2 separate regions of the Homo sapiens genome follow, and region 1 is linked to region 2. The links are contacts of gene promoters, found by promoter capture Hi-C in blood cells and fetal thymus (Javierre and others, 2016). All regions are on one chromosome and are shown on one strand. The core of a region is centred on a gene start or on the middle of the fragment in contact, and the rest is flanking DNA. Distances in the headings are between cores, read along the strand shown. Region 1 holds the start of COL4A6 (collagen type IV alpha 6 chain). Region 2 holds the start of PSMD10 (proteasome 26S subunit, non-ATPase 10).

The links. Contacts are between HindIII fragments. The CHiCAGO score rates a contact against its expected background, and 5 or more counts as called.
Region 1: the fragment with the promoter of COL4A6 here is called in contact with the fragment with the promoter of PSMD10 in region 2 in 2 of 17 cell types (fetal thymus and erythroblasts); the score reaches 7.3 in fetal thymus.

Annotation. Positions count from the first base shown.
Region 1 is chrX:108,433,592-108,439,996 of GRCh38, forward strand. It overlaps COL4A6 (collagen type IV alpha 6 chain), which reads right to left and starts at 4,831. Exons shown (of 45, transcript NM_033641.4): 1 at 4,595-4,831; 2 at 4,351-4,402. The coding sequence starts at 4,605. COL4A5 (collagen type IV alpha 5 chain) reads left to right here and starts at 6,247. Exons shown (of 53, transcript NM_033380.3): 1 at 6,247-6,405. The HindIII fragment of the contact is 13,330 bases long and covers 1-6,065 here.
Region 2 is chrX:108,088,513-108,095,024 of GRCh38, forward strand. It overlaps PSMD10 (proteasome 26S subunit, non-ATPase 10), which reads right to left and starts at 3,030. Exons shown (of 5, transcript NM_002814.4): 1 at 2,895-3,030; 2 at 240-338. The coding sequence starts at 3,008. It overlaps ATG4A (autophagy related 4A cysteine peptidase), which reads left to right and starts at 3,266. Exons shown (of 13, transcript NM_052936.5): 1 at 3,266-3,324. The coding sequence starts at 3,315. RefSeq lists enhancers at 2,779-3,178, 3,229-3,468. The HindIII fragment of the contact is 5,520 bases long and covers 153-5,672 here.

The DNA.
Region 1 (6,405 bases), core at 3,581-6,080, 350 kb after region 2:
CAGCTCACCTGCAACCTCCAACTCCTGGGCTCAAGCCATCCTCCCACCTCAGCCTCCCAGTAGATAGGACTATAGGCGTGCACCACCATGCCCAGCTAATTTTTGTATTTTTTGTAGAGACGGAGTTTCACTATGTTGCCTAGGCTGGTCTTGAACTCATGAGCTCAAGCAATCCACCTACCTCGGCCTCCCAAACTGCTGGGATTACAGGCATGAGCCACTGCACCCAGCCATACTTTTAAGATTATTCTAACAGGGAGCTGTGGTGTGTGCCTATAGTCCCAGCTACTCAGGAGGCTGAGGCAGGTGGATTGCTTGAGGCTGTGGTGTACCATAATTGCACCTGTGGTAAAATTATGAAATAATCCATATAATTCAGGCAAATAAAAACCAATATTAATAATTGAGGTCAATCAGTTTTTTCTATTAATGAGATAATAAGGGAAACAGTATACTTTACTCCAGTCATATGGCTTGATTATGAGCTTACAGAATATAGGAGCATATTTATTGAAGACTCCAAACTATGCTTAAAAATTAAAAGATTGTTGGCACTTAGAGTCAACACAATTCCCCTCATGCCTGAACAAACATTAGAAAATGACTGTTTTTGTAAAACCAATTTTCTTAAACTAGGGGTACTTTTTTCATGCCATAGTTTGGCAGTCTAGTGAAGCCTATGGACTCCTTTTTAGAATACTATTTTTTTTTTCCTTTTGAGACAGGGTTTCACTCTGCTGCCCAGGGTGGAGTACAGTGGCTATTCACAGGCACGATGATGGTGCGTCACAGCCTCAAACTTCTGTTCTCAAGCAATCCTCCTGCCTCAGCCTCCTCCTAAGTAGCTGGGACTACAGGCACACACCACAGCACCCTGCTAGTTTTAGAAGTATACAATAAAATACATAGGATTACAATGGAAACTGATTACACTGAAATACAATCATTAAAATGTATAATAAAACAATTTTTGAAATGGTTATATATTTGCTTCTTTAGTAACACTTTAGATAATAACATCTATTATCCCCTCCTCTATCTTAAAATATATTTGAATTTCACCTATAAATAATGTAAATATATTATCATCTATGGATTATCTATTTACAGTCATTTGATGATTTACTTAATAGTGTACTCATACATTTCTATCAGTATCCTTAGTCATCCCAAGATATATATATATATATATTATATATTTATATACACACATACACACACGTATATTATATGTTGTGATTTTTCATAGCTAGCTGATATAGGATATTTGCTAGCAGGTAAAGTAGAAGAGTACTTTAAGGATTTATAGAGACACAGCCCCAGATAATGCAAATATTCCTCTTGGTCTTTAGAACTGGAAGAGATCGTCTCCATCGCTGAACTCCCTTAACATAATATTCATATATTGATGACTACTATACGACTGAAAATCACAGCAGAAAGGACCAACCTGGGCATGTTACAACTTTAAAGAAAGAAGTTGATATTTCAATCAGACCTTGATTTGAGTGCAGCTAAAGGCATTTTACCTATGCTCTCTGCAGAAGGAACAATAGAAATGTTTTCTCTCCTTACCCTCCTCCCAACCCAAATAAGTATCCCCCTAGGCTTTTGACTTTAAGTATGCTTGATTGTATTAGACCTTTTCCTGAAAGCTCATTTGGAGGGGGCAAAGTGTGAAGAAAACATAAGGATCTGACTACTTCGGGATATATGTTTTTTCCTAGATATATTGGCTGATGGTGAGATTTGTATCTTTCTAGACATTTCGCTAACACGATGCAAGTACATGTAGATAATAACTTATCATTAAGCATCCTATCTTCTAAGGAACATAATGACCACCATTGTCTGAGAAAGCAAATTCCTAGAGAGTTAGGAACTATGTTTAAATAAATCTTTGCATGCTGTGCGTGGCCTAGCACAGCCCCTTAGATAGTTAGGCGCCTAACAGCCAAAGACATGGATGTTCTGAGATCCTAGATTCTATTTTATGCAGATAAATTGTGCAAATATTTCACCTGAATGAAGATCATTACTCCTTTAAAGTAAATTTAATGGAAGCTCATTCTTTAACATGGATTTTAACATTTAGTTTTCCTTTACTTTATATAGATGTGCTTTGTAAACTCAGGAAAAGAAAGAGCCCAAAAGCCCCTAAATGACCCAATCTTTAAATGCTTGCCAATATTATTGGCAGCTTAATTCTCACAGTAAAGAGACTTTCTCATAGCAAAACACAACATAGTTCCTGCCAATCTATTTTTAATAGCTATTTTCGTTAATATTAGTCAAACATGGCACAGAGAATTTAAATGTTTAAAACAATCCAAAGGGTGAAAAACACACAAACTCATGAGGATAAACTGGAATTGAGTGTAGAATACGAGAACCAGCCCGTATAGATAAGAATCCCGTGCAAAGAGTGTAAAAGAAAAACAAAACAACCCTTCAGAAAAGTCATCTTCTGATAACTTATTCTGTGACTGTCTTTATATTTGTCATTTTCCCCAAAACTGAAAAAAAGTAGCTTTACAATGTCAAAGATATTTTGCATAAGTAAACAACAAGTGAAGGAAGTGGCTGTGTACTTAAATAAGTCAAAAAATAAAGTATTATCTGTGGAACTCAAGGTCAATTTTAGACTTACCATGGTCAATCATACTGACATAGCAGGTGACATAAAACAATGAGACAGAGTCTAAAACTCATACACCAAAGCAGTGCTTAATTTTGGAGACTCATTTCAATACTTGAAAGAATTGCAAGCATTAAAGTGGTTTTTAAAGGTATTAAGTGACAGGATGCAGTGTTTGTGAAGTCTTCAGCTATCTGGAATGATCTGTAGTGTTTTTCCCAAAAGTACACTGAATAAAATCAGCCAGAGTCTAAAAATAAAAGTTTTGCTTGAGGGTATTCTGCCCATGCATGACACTTTTACAAGTGGCAAGATTCCTGGATGAATTGTTAACTAATCAAATCTTGGCATTTTCAATTAATGTAGTTATTGAGCCTCAAGGTAATACATAACTAAACTTGTATATTGAAGGAATAAGATGGAGAAGTACACAGAGTCTTAGATCAATATCTTTGCTTACGAAGTCCAGAATTTACTTACATAGGAACTGATATTGAGTTAAGGGGTCACAAGATGTTGGTATTCAAGTTTTCTGGCATCTTCCTCTCTTTACAAGAAAAATAGCTTCACTCTGGTATTTTCTTAAAGACATCATATGCCAAGATAAAATAATCCATTTTTTCATAAACACATTGGGTGATTTATTAGGTTGAATTACGTATGGCCCTATAATAGTATTTAAAAATATTTAAAATATTAAAAAGCAGAGCCAATCAGTTAAAATGATCAAAACCCACAAGATAAATATTTGGAATATATATTCATCTCTCATCTATATAGGGAATGGCTTTGGGTATCATTAAGAATTTTTAAAAAAAATACAGCAGTGAAATAGTACTCAACAATTGAACAACTTCGTATTCAAACTCAACAGTTTTTATTTCTGCCAGCTTAAGTAGCTAGTGAAACTGGAAAACTGCAGCATCTTTGATTATTTGGGTCACTCCATCTTTGTGAAATTATCCTAGTAATTCCACTGGAGATTTCAATACTTTCTGGGACCCATTAAACTTTTCTTGACCAAAAGTCTTCAGAAATTTCTTTACCTGCAGTCCCTAGTTGATTTGATAGATGACATCTAAACAGCCTATGAAATGTTAACTTTGATTTTTTTTTCTATTATAACAGCTTTATCTTTTAACTTTCTGGTGATGCAGAAACGAGTAACACGACACATCAGACAGAAATTGAACATCACCTAGTGGTATCAGTTCAATTCAGGTAGTTAAAGAATCCAGATGTTGTCACCTGGTACTGTCAAACGACTCTAAGCATGTACTTAAGTTTCATTTCCATAGCATCTGCGGCACTTTGAAGTTCCACTCCTTGTGCTCTCCTCCCACTCTCAAACTAGTGTGCCAATTCAAGTTCTTGAAGACCAGGGAAAATTATGTTTCTTCTGCCGTGGAGATTGATGCTAGTCATCTTAAGTCGTCTGGGGAAGAGGCTCAGAAATGTGTGCATCTTGTGTCTTCCACTTTTATTTTCCCAACCCGTTACGAAGTTTTGGAAGATATCTTGGTCCCAAAAACACTGACTTGACACTGTGCTATTCCTCTCAAGAATCTCATTAACTCCCATTAGAAAGGGGAGTGGTGTGGACTCCGTCTCGTGGTGAAACTCTCTGCAACCCCCTAACATAAATACTAGAGATGGGGATGGTTAGAGGGTCAAAGGAGGGGGACGGAAAAGGGTCGTGAGAAGAGACTCACCGCTGCTGCCAGTTCCTCGGTCAGGCACAACGTAACCAGGAGCAGCCACAACCTGAAATGGGAGGGAGGGTGAGTAATGGGCTCTCTAGGCTTCGGGGTCGTGCGTCTGCCTGTCGCCCCCCGAACCCTTTTGGATGCCTGCTCCCAATTTCTCTGCAGTGACAGAAGTACCAGTATAGTCCCGGCCTGGCAAAGTAACCCGAAGTAAGAAAGAGGAGGGGAGCTCGGGGCAGCAACAGCTCACCCAGGGTGCATGCTTGCGGCTCCTCCGGAGCTGGGTCCCGGGAGACTGCTAAGCGGCTCCGCGGCCCGTGCTCATCTGGGCTCTGCTGATGCTTGGAGGCTGTTTCCTTACTCAGAACAGAGTAGGTGGACGAAGTGGCCCAGTTTGGAAGAAACTAAACACTGCTTCTAGATAAGAAGTGCTCCAAAGGGAAACAGGCTCAGCGGTGCCCGTTACAACTTGCAGCACTCAGGAGATAGTTCCATGCAGCAGGAGAGGAAAGAATGGAGGGGAAAGGGGCGGGGCTGTCTGCTGTCAATCATCCCCCCTACCTTGGGCAGCCGGTAGTCTTTCTCACTTTCAGGCACCTTTCCACACAACAGCCCTAAGTATCTCCACAGCTTCACACACAGCCCCTTAGAGACCTATACGCTAAGACCTAAGCAACTGTGCATCATATACTTTCAACTTTACTGTTAGGTTACACATAAAGAGACATAGGCATACTATTCCCACATAAGACAGATGGGCCCGAAAGTGCCCTTGCACACATGCCCAAATGCATACAACACTGATTCAAATTGATAGTACACTAGGCTATTGGGAAGGGGAGACAGTTTCTGGAGTTGTAAATCCACTCTGAGCTAAGCAGAACCTAAGGATGAGTGGGCCCTCGTGAAATAGATCCAAAACCTTGAAAGACTCTAAAGTGGTTAATTCTAGGAAGATAGAAATGTTGTGAAGAATTCTTCATCAAATTCTTGAAGATTCTCCAAGGAGTCCGCAGAAAGTATTTTCTAGTTCTTTTGTTACTTTAAAAAAAATCTATATATCAGAATTATCAAAGGAACATTCAAGTCTTTATATGGGAGATATCGATTCAGCTGCCATCAACTCTATTTAAATATTTCCAATTAAGTGTTTATATTAATTCTAAGAAACACTGCACTAAATTTATTTAATTCCCTGCCCTAAATCTTTCTGAAACACAACTACAATGAGAGTCAATACCTTTTACATTAGCTCAATATAGGAGGCATTAATTATAGGATTCAATGCAGCTAAACAGAGATATAGCTGTATTATAATAACATAATACCATAGAATAATTACCAATACCTGCTGAATGCTCCCAGATCTTATACGTATATAACACACATAAAGTATTCACGCACATATACTTATTTTCTTACTTGTTTATAAGCATATACTTTATTTATTCCCAATATTTTCACATCTTCTGCTTGTATGTAGAAACTCTCTGTTCTGTGAGCAGCTGGAAGGTAAAGAAGACCAGCAGCCCAGGGAGCACCGACCAAAATTTGTTTCTAATGAGTAACAATAAAAAGCACGGCCCCTCTGAGATCCATCCGCTAAAAAAATAGTCCCAGTTTAGATCTATTTGTAATTGGCTTTGGTACGCACACCAATGAGATTGGAACTGAGCCTAGAAAAGTAGTATCAACGGAAGGTGCAAATGAACGAATAGAAAAGCTTCCCGGTTGGACTCATGGTGCTCAGTCAACTAGTCTGGAAGTTTCCCTCCCCCAAATAACTGAGCGTCACTCCCTCGCAGGTTGCCGGTGCAGTCTAAAACTGTGGCGGAGTGATACTCAAATTCCCTTGTGCTGGTGAGGAGGGGGGCCTTGCACGGGGAAGAGAGGGAGGAAAGTAGATCTGTAGGAATTGAGTGAAGAAAAAGTTTGCAAGTCTGGACAGAAGGGAAAAGTTCTCCTGAGAGACCGGCTTTGGGGAGGGGAGGGGGGAAGGAAGAGTAGCTCCTTCTTCTTCTTCTTTTTTTTTTCTTCCACTCTTAAAAAGCTTCTTTCTCT
Region 2 (6,512 bases), core at 1,780-4,279:
TCCTACCTCAGCCTCTCCTGTATGTTTACCTTAAATCACAGAGTATGAGTGGCAAACATAACATTGTAAAATAATGCAACCATGAGTCTCATGCTTGATCACAAGGGCCATGATGTAACTTTCCAGTCATAAAGGTTACAATTTTCTTTATAAGCTTAATGCACAGGCTTCAGTAAACACCAGTCTGGAGTACAAAGATAACTGGGAATTTATCAACTCAACTTTATCAAAGTACTCACATCGTCTTTATCATTCACTGGCACTCCAAGTTGCAACAAAAATTCAACAATTTCTGTATGTCCAGCTGAGCATGCCCAGTGCAATGCAGTTCTGCTGTCCTACAGAGAAGCAGTAATAGAAACATTCTTGAAATAGAAGGCAAAAAAGCAAGAAAAAAAATACTGGTGCTGGCAAATCTATAGTTTGAAAATACGAAATGCAGAGCACTGGATCCTCAGGTAGGTAACCTTAAACTATATTACTTACTGGTATAAGACAGATGAAGGTTTAAGTAACATGGGGAGAATGACATTGATGAACATACGTAATTCTGGGCAGAATACGACAAGGAAAGTAGTAGAGCAAGAAACTGATTTCAATGCTTTGACAGAAATACATCTTTGGTTGTTTTACTATTACATTATTTACGTACTTTTATGTCAGGCACTGTGCTGGGAGTTTTACATGTATAGTATCATTTAATTCCTACCATTCTACACAGTGCTTATTATCTCCATTTTTCAGATGAGGAAACTAAAACTCCTCAGGGTAAGCAACTTGTGGACGGTCATATGGATACTAAATGGTGAAGTTGGGGCACAACTGTCAGTGAAGTTCTGACTCTGAAATCTCTACTACCACACTGACCTCAAGTTAGATGCTGTAGAAGGAACACATGAATCTAATGGGGGAAGAAATGTTCATTAAACTAGTTGAAATTATCTAGAATTTAAAATCATAAATAAATTAGAAATATAATTTAGAAAACACAACACACAGAAAACAAGAAAATTACTTTTTATAAAAAATAATAAGCTATGGCCGGGTGCGGTGGTTCACGCCTATAATCCCAGCACTTTGGGAGGCTGAGGTGGGCAGATCACCCGAGGTCAGGAGTTCTAGACCAGCCTGGCAACATGGTGAAACTCCGTCTCTACTAAAAATACAAAAGTTAGCCAGGCGTGGTGGCAGGCGCCTGTAATCCCAGCTACTTGGGAGGCTGAGGCAGGGGAATCGCTTGAACCCGGGAGGCAGAGGTTGCAGTGAGGTGATACGGCACCACTGCACTCCAGCCTGGGCAACAAGAGCGAAACTCTGTTTCAAAAAATAAATAAATAAAAATAAATAAAAATTAAAAAAGCTATAGTAGTCATTATTTGTCAAAGGGAATCCCTATTTGCAGTGACTGCTATACTTCTTAGCCCCACAGAATAGAAAATGGTATTTTAAACTCTATTACAAAAAAATTTCAAACACAAAAATAGAGGGAATAGAATAGAAACCCACAGGCCTACTGCTTAGATTTAACAACAAACATCTTGCCCTATTTGCTTTAACTAGTTTTTTCCTTGCTGAGCTTTCCAAAAACAAATCCTAAATATCATGACTTTTCACCCTTCTCTTTCAGTATGTAAAAAATAAAGGTATTTCTTATATAACTATGAGACCATTATTACACTTACTAAAATTAACACTAACTCCTTTAGAATGTCTAATATCCGGTCTGTATTCAGATTGCCCCCAACTGTCTCCCAAATGTCTTTTTGCAGTTGGTTTGTTTAAATCAGGAACCAGACGAGATCCATAAATTGCATTTCTTCATGTTTTTTACGTCTCTTGATGCTGAATAGTTCCTTTCCCTTTTTAAGCCACTGACTTGACTGAAGAATGGTTAAATTTCCAATGGAGTATTAAATCTTAATATAAAGTATTACATTTAAATTTAAATCCTTAAATATCACCAGACCATAATGAAGTAAACCAGGTAAAGATAAGGCCATTTTCAGGTTGAGTAATAAAGGAAAGTTCCAGAAAAGAGAAAACAGTCTCTTGATTTCTAATTCTCTCCCAAAAGACACAAAATGGAGATCTGTAAGTATGGGACAGTCTCACTAGTGCTTACGACACTGTCTGCGAAACACAAGGCCATCTATAAATATTTGTGGGCTTACTAAAGGCACCATGAATCCTAGAAACTGAGGATGAAAGCACGAGAGTCCTGTGAGCAGGAGGGCAGAAAGAAACACTTCTAAACTTCTGTCTACCTCTGCTTAGAATGTCCACTCATTCCCCCATGGAAATCCCACTCATGCTTCAAAGTCTAACTAACCTTCCCTTCTTTGCAAAAACTTTTCCAATTAACGACAGTCATATTCAGCATCAGATCCTCCTATTAACGTGTTCTGAAAGCACCATGTAAACTTCTCTGCCGAGTATTTACCACAATTTGTAATCGGACATGTTTTTGTGCTTATTTTATTGTCTGCATCTTCCACTCCACCGTATCCCCAGCTCCTAGCAAACTGCCTGGCACGGAAGGGGCGTTCAATTTCACATGCGTTACTGAATACAGTTACTAGTAAAGGTAAATAAATCCATATAAAAAGCCTTCCTTTTCACTGATTGGGAGTTTCTGAGAAATGCGGTAGACGTTCTAGAACTATCCAAAAATCAGGGAGCGGAGCTCCGGGCCAACGGGAAAATATCTGAGGTCTGTGGGGCTAGCTCCCGCAGGCCTATCGCGAGTCCCGAGGTGACCCAGGGGGACTGCTTGGGGCGGCGGGGGCGGGGTTCTGCTTCTCTCAGAAACGGGGCCTCCGCTAGGGCCGGGCCCCGAAAGCCACGTAGGGCTTCGCCGACGTCGCCGACTGCGGAGAGACCTAGCGTTGCTTTACCTGGTCAGTTCTAGTAGCCAGGGATTTATCGGCCAGAATACTCTCCTTCAACTCTTCCAGCTTCCCGCTGTAGGCCAGGTTGCAGACCATTAGGTTAGACACACACCCCTCCATTTCGCTGTCCCAGCAACTACTTGTCGCGCGAGCAACGCCCGCCTCACGTCGCCGGCTCCGGCTACGCCAGTCAAAACAGCCGTTAGAGCTTCACCAATCACCGGCCTTCCTCGTTCCCTTTTCTTTTCCCGTCGCGCGGCGCCTCTGGGAGTTGCAGTTTGAGAGCAGTTCCGGGCAGGGAGGCGCCTTTGCTGCCCTCACAGACTTGGCCCCTAGCAGTGCAGAACTACAAGTCCCAGGGATCCTAGCGACCGTCCGTCCGTAGTCAAGTTGCCGGTGGAATTGGCCCAGGATGACAGCTGGAGAATGGAGTCAGGTACGGGGAGCGGCTTTGAGTGGAACCGTGTGAAAGAGCCGGGGTGGGTAGTCGCTGGCGGGTCGTTGAGTCGGCCATATGAAACAGGTTCGGGGGCAGGGCAAGAGTTATGAGAGCCTAAAGGTCCTGTCCCCCGGGGTTCCTGACCTGCAGTGGCAGGCGGAAGGGACAAGGGTTGGAGCTGAGTACTACCTACTGAGCTCGAACCGGTGACTGTGGCTACCCTCCCCCTCCCTGCCACCGCCTAGGGAGTGGAAAGAAGTGGGGGTTAATTACTCTGACATCTCGGCGGTGTGGCATCAGGACAGGGTTCTACCACAGCAGTGATAGCATATGGCACCGTACTGAGGTGATGTGCCAGGGTGATGCCAAAGGCAGGGTGTGATGCCGTGGGAGCCACCTGATATCTAAGAGACCTCGGTGAGTCCATAGCCTGGTGACATCACAGCTTGATGAGGGTCATCTTAAGGATACCGGGCTGTGGTGTTGGCATTTTAATATCACGATATTAACTATGTTGTCAAGGCTTTGCTACAACTATTAAGCTAATAGTGTTTCTTTTTATAGAAATCCCAAATAGTGCCATAGCAGAAGCAATGCAAGACTGATCCTTTATAGGGCATATCCAGAGGACATTATGCCACAACTAGGTAACGATAAGAATACATTCAAGAAAGAGACTCATGATGTTTATGTTTATCCTGTTATAGTGTAGAACAGGAGTTGGGAAACTTTCTGTAAAGAGCCAGATAGTAAATATTTTAGGCTTTGTAGGCCAAAAGGCAAAATCAAGAATATTTTGTTGGTACTTTTATGACAAAAGAGAAAACAAATTTCAACAAATTTTTATTGATGAAATTCAAAATATAATAGTAATTGAGTACTTTTTTTGTAATACAGGAAGACTACCAATGAGAAGAATAGAATTCTTTTTAGGGGATAATATTTTGCTTAATTGGGGCTCAGAATTAGTGTTCCCTATTGTCAAAATTGATTTTAAGTGTTCATCTGTTAATGCTGATCTGTTAGGAAATTTTTACCTATTTAATCTTTGAAAATGTCATTTTACATAGATAGGTACTGCCAAATACTGATATCAATTCATAAACATATACTTTTTTATTTTTATTTTTATTTAATTTTTCAAAAATTTCAGAATAGTTGTAGATTTATAGAAAAGTTGCAAGGTTAGTAGAGTTCCTGTATAACACTCACTCAAAATGAGGCACATTTTACATATCATAAAATTCACTGATTTCAAGTGCATAATTAAATGATTTTTGGTAACTTTACTGAAGTGGGGCAACCATCACCATAAATCAGTTTTAGAACTTTTTGATCCCTCCAGTAAGGTCCCTCATGCCTATTTATAGTTAATCAATCCTCTGTCCCATTCCCAGCCCCAGACAACCACTAATCTACTTTTTTGTTTCTATAAATTTGCCTATTCTGGACATTTTATATAAATGAAATCATACAATATGCAGTCTTTGTGTCTGATTTCTTTCACTTAGCATAATATTTTTGAGATTCATCCATATTGTAGTATGTATCAGTACTTCCTTACTTTTTTATTGCTGAATAGTATTCCATTTTATGGATATAACACATTTTTATCTGTCTACTCACTATTAGATAGGCACATCAGTTTCCAATTTTTGGCTACTATGACTAGTGCTGCTAAGAAGATTAGTATGTAAGTCTTCGTGCGGACATATTTTTTTCATTTCTCTTTGATAGATACTTAAGGGTGGAGTTACTGGATCACAGGGAAAATTTATGCTTAACTTCTTAAGAAACTGCAAAACTGTTTTCCAAAATGGCAGCAACATTTTGCACTTCCACTAGCAATGTATGAGAGTTCCTGTTTCTCCACATCCTTGCCAACATTTGTTATTTACTGTGTTTTTTGTTATAGCCATTCTAAGTGGGTGTGAAGTGGTGTCTCATTGTGGTTTTAATTTATAAATTATAATTTATAATACGGTGAGCATATTTTCATGTGCTTATTAGCCATTCATATATCTTCTTCAGTGAAGTGTCTGTTATATCTTTTGTCTGTTTTTAAATTGAGTTATTTGTTTTTTTAGTGTTGAGTTGTAAGGATGGTTTATATATTCTAGATCAAGTCCCTGAGAGATATATGATATGCACATATATTCTCCCAGTCTGTTGCTTGCCTTTTTCTTTTTTTGATGGTGTCTTTTGAAGTGAAAACGTTTTGAATTTGGGTGAGGTTCAATTTATCATTTTTTTTTCTTTCATGGACCATTCTTTTGGTGTTGTACTTAAGAAGTCTTTGCCTAATTGCAAGGTCTCAGTGATTTTCTCCAATGTTTTCTTCTAAAAGCTTTATTACTTCATCTCTTACATTTAAGTCTATGATTCATTTTGAGTTCATTTTTTCTCTGTGATGTGAGGTGAGAGTCTAAATTCATCTTTTTGCATGTGGATGTAGAAATTGTCCTAGCACCATTTGCTGAATCTCTTATCATTAACGTCTTACATTGCTATGCTATCTATGTCACAACTAATAAGCCCACAGTGGTATATTGCTATTAACTATACCCCATGCTTTTTTTTTTCAAGTTTCACTAGTTTATCTCTAGAGATGCTGTCCCATCCAGGATACCACATTACGTTTAGTCATTGTATCTCCTTAGCCTCTTCTGGTTTGTGACACTTTCTCACACTTTTCTTGTTTTGGTGACCTTGATAGTTTTAAGGAGTACTGGTCAGGTATTTTGTAGAAAACCCCTCAATTTTATGCTTAGACTGGCATTATGTGTTTGGAAGAAAGTCTGCAGAGGTCAAGTACCACATTCTTATCATACACTATCCTCAAACATGATTTTAATTGAGCATATTCATTGCGTGGAATAGAATTCTGTTCTTCTCTTAATAGTGCCTTTTAGCATTATGTGGCAGGTTAATCACTTCCAATTGAAAGTTTGGTGAAAGCTGCTCAATTGCACAGTTAAAGGGATTTTGGAATATGGAATATCCTTTGCACTTGCTTCAGGGTTCAAAAACTGCTGCTGGAACTGTAGTCTGAATTCAGAAAATATATATGCTGCAAATTCTTATGGAAATAGATATCTTGCTTCTTGTTTTAACTTTTATTTCATTTTATTTTGAGACAGAGTCTCACTCTGTCACCCAGGCTGGAATGCAGTGGCACGATCTTG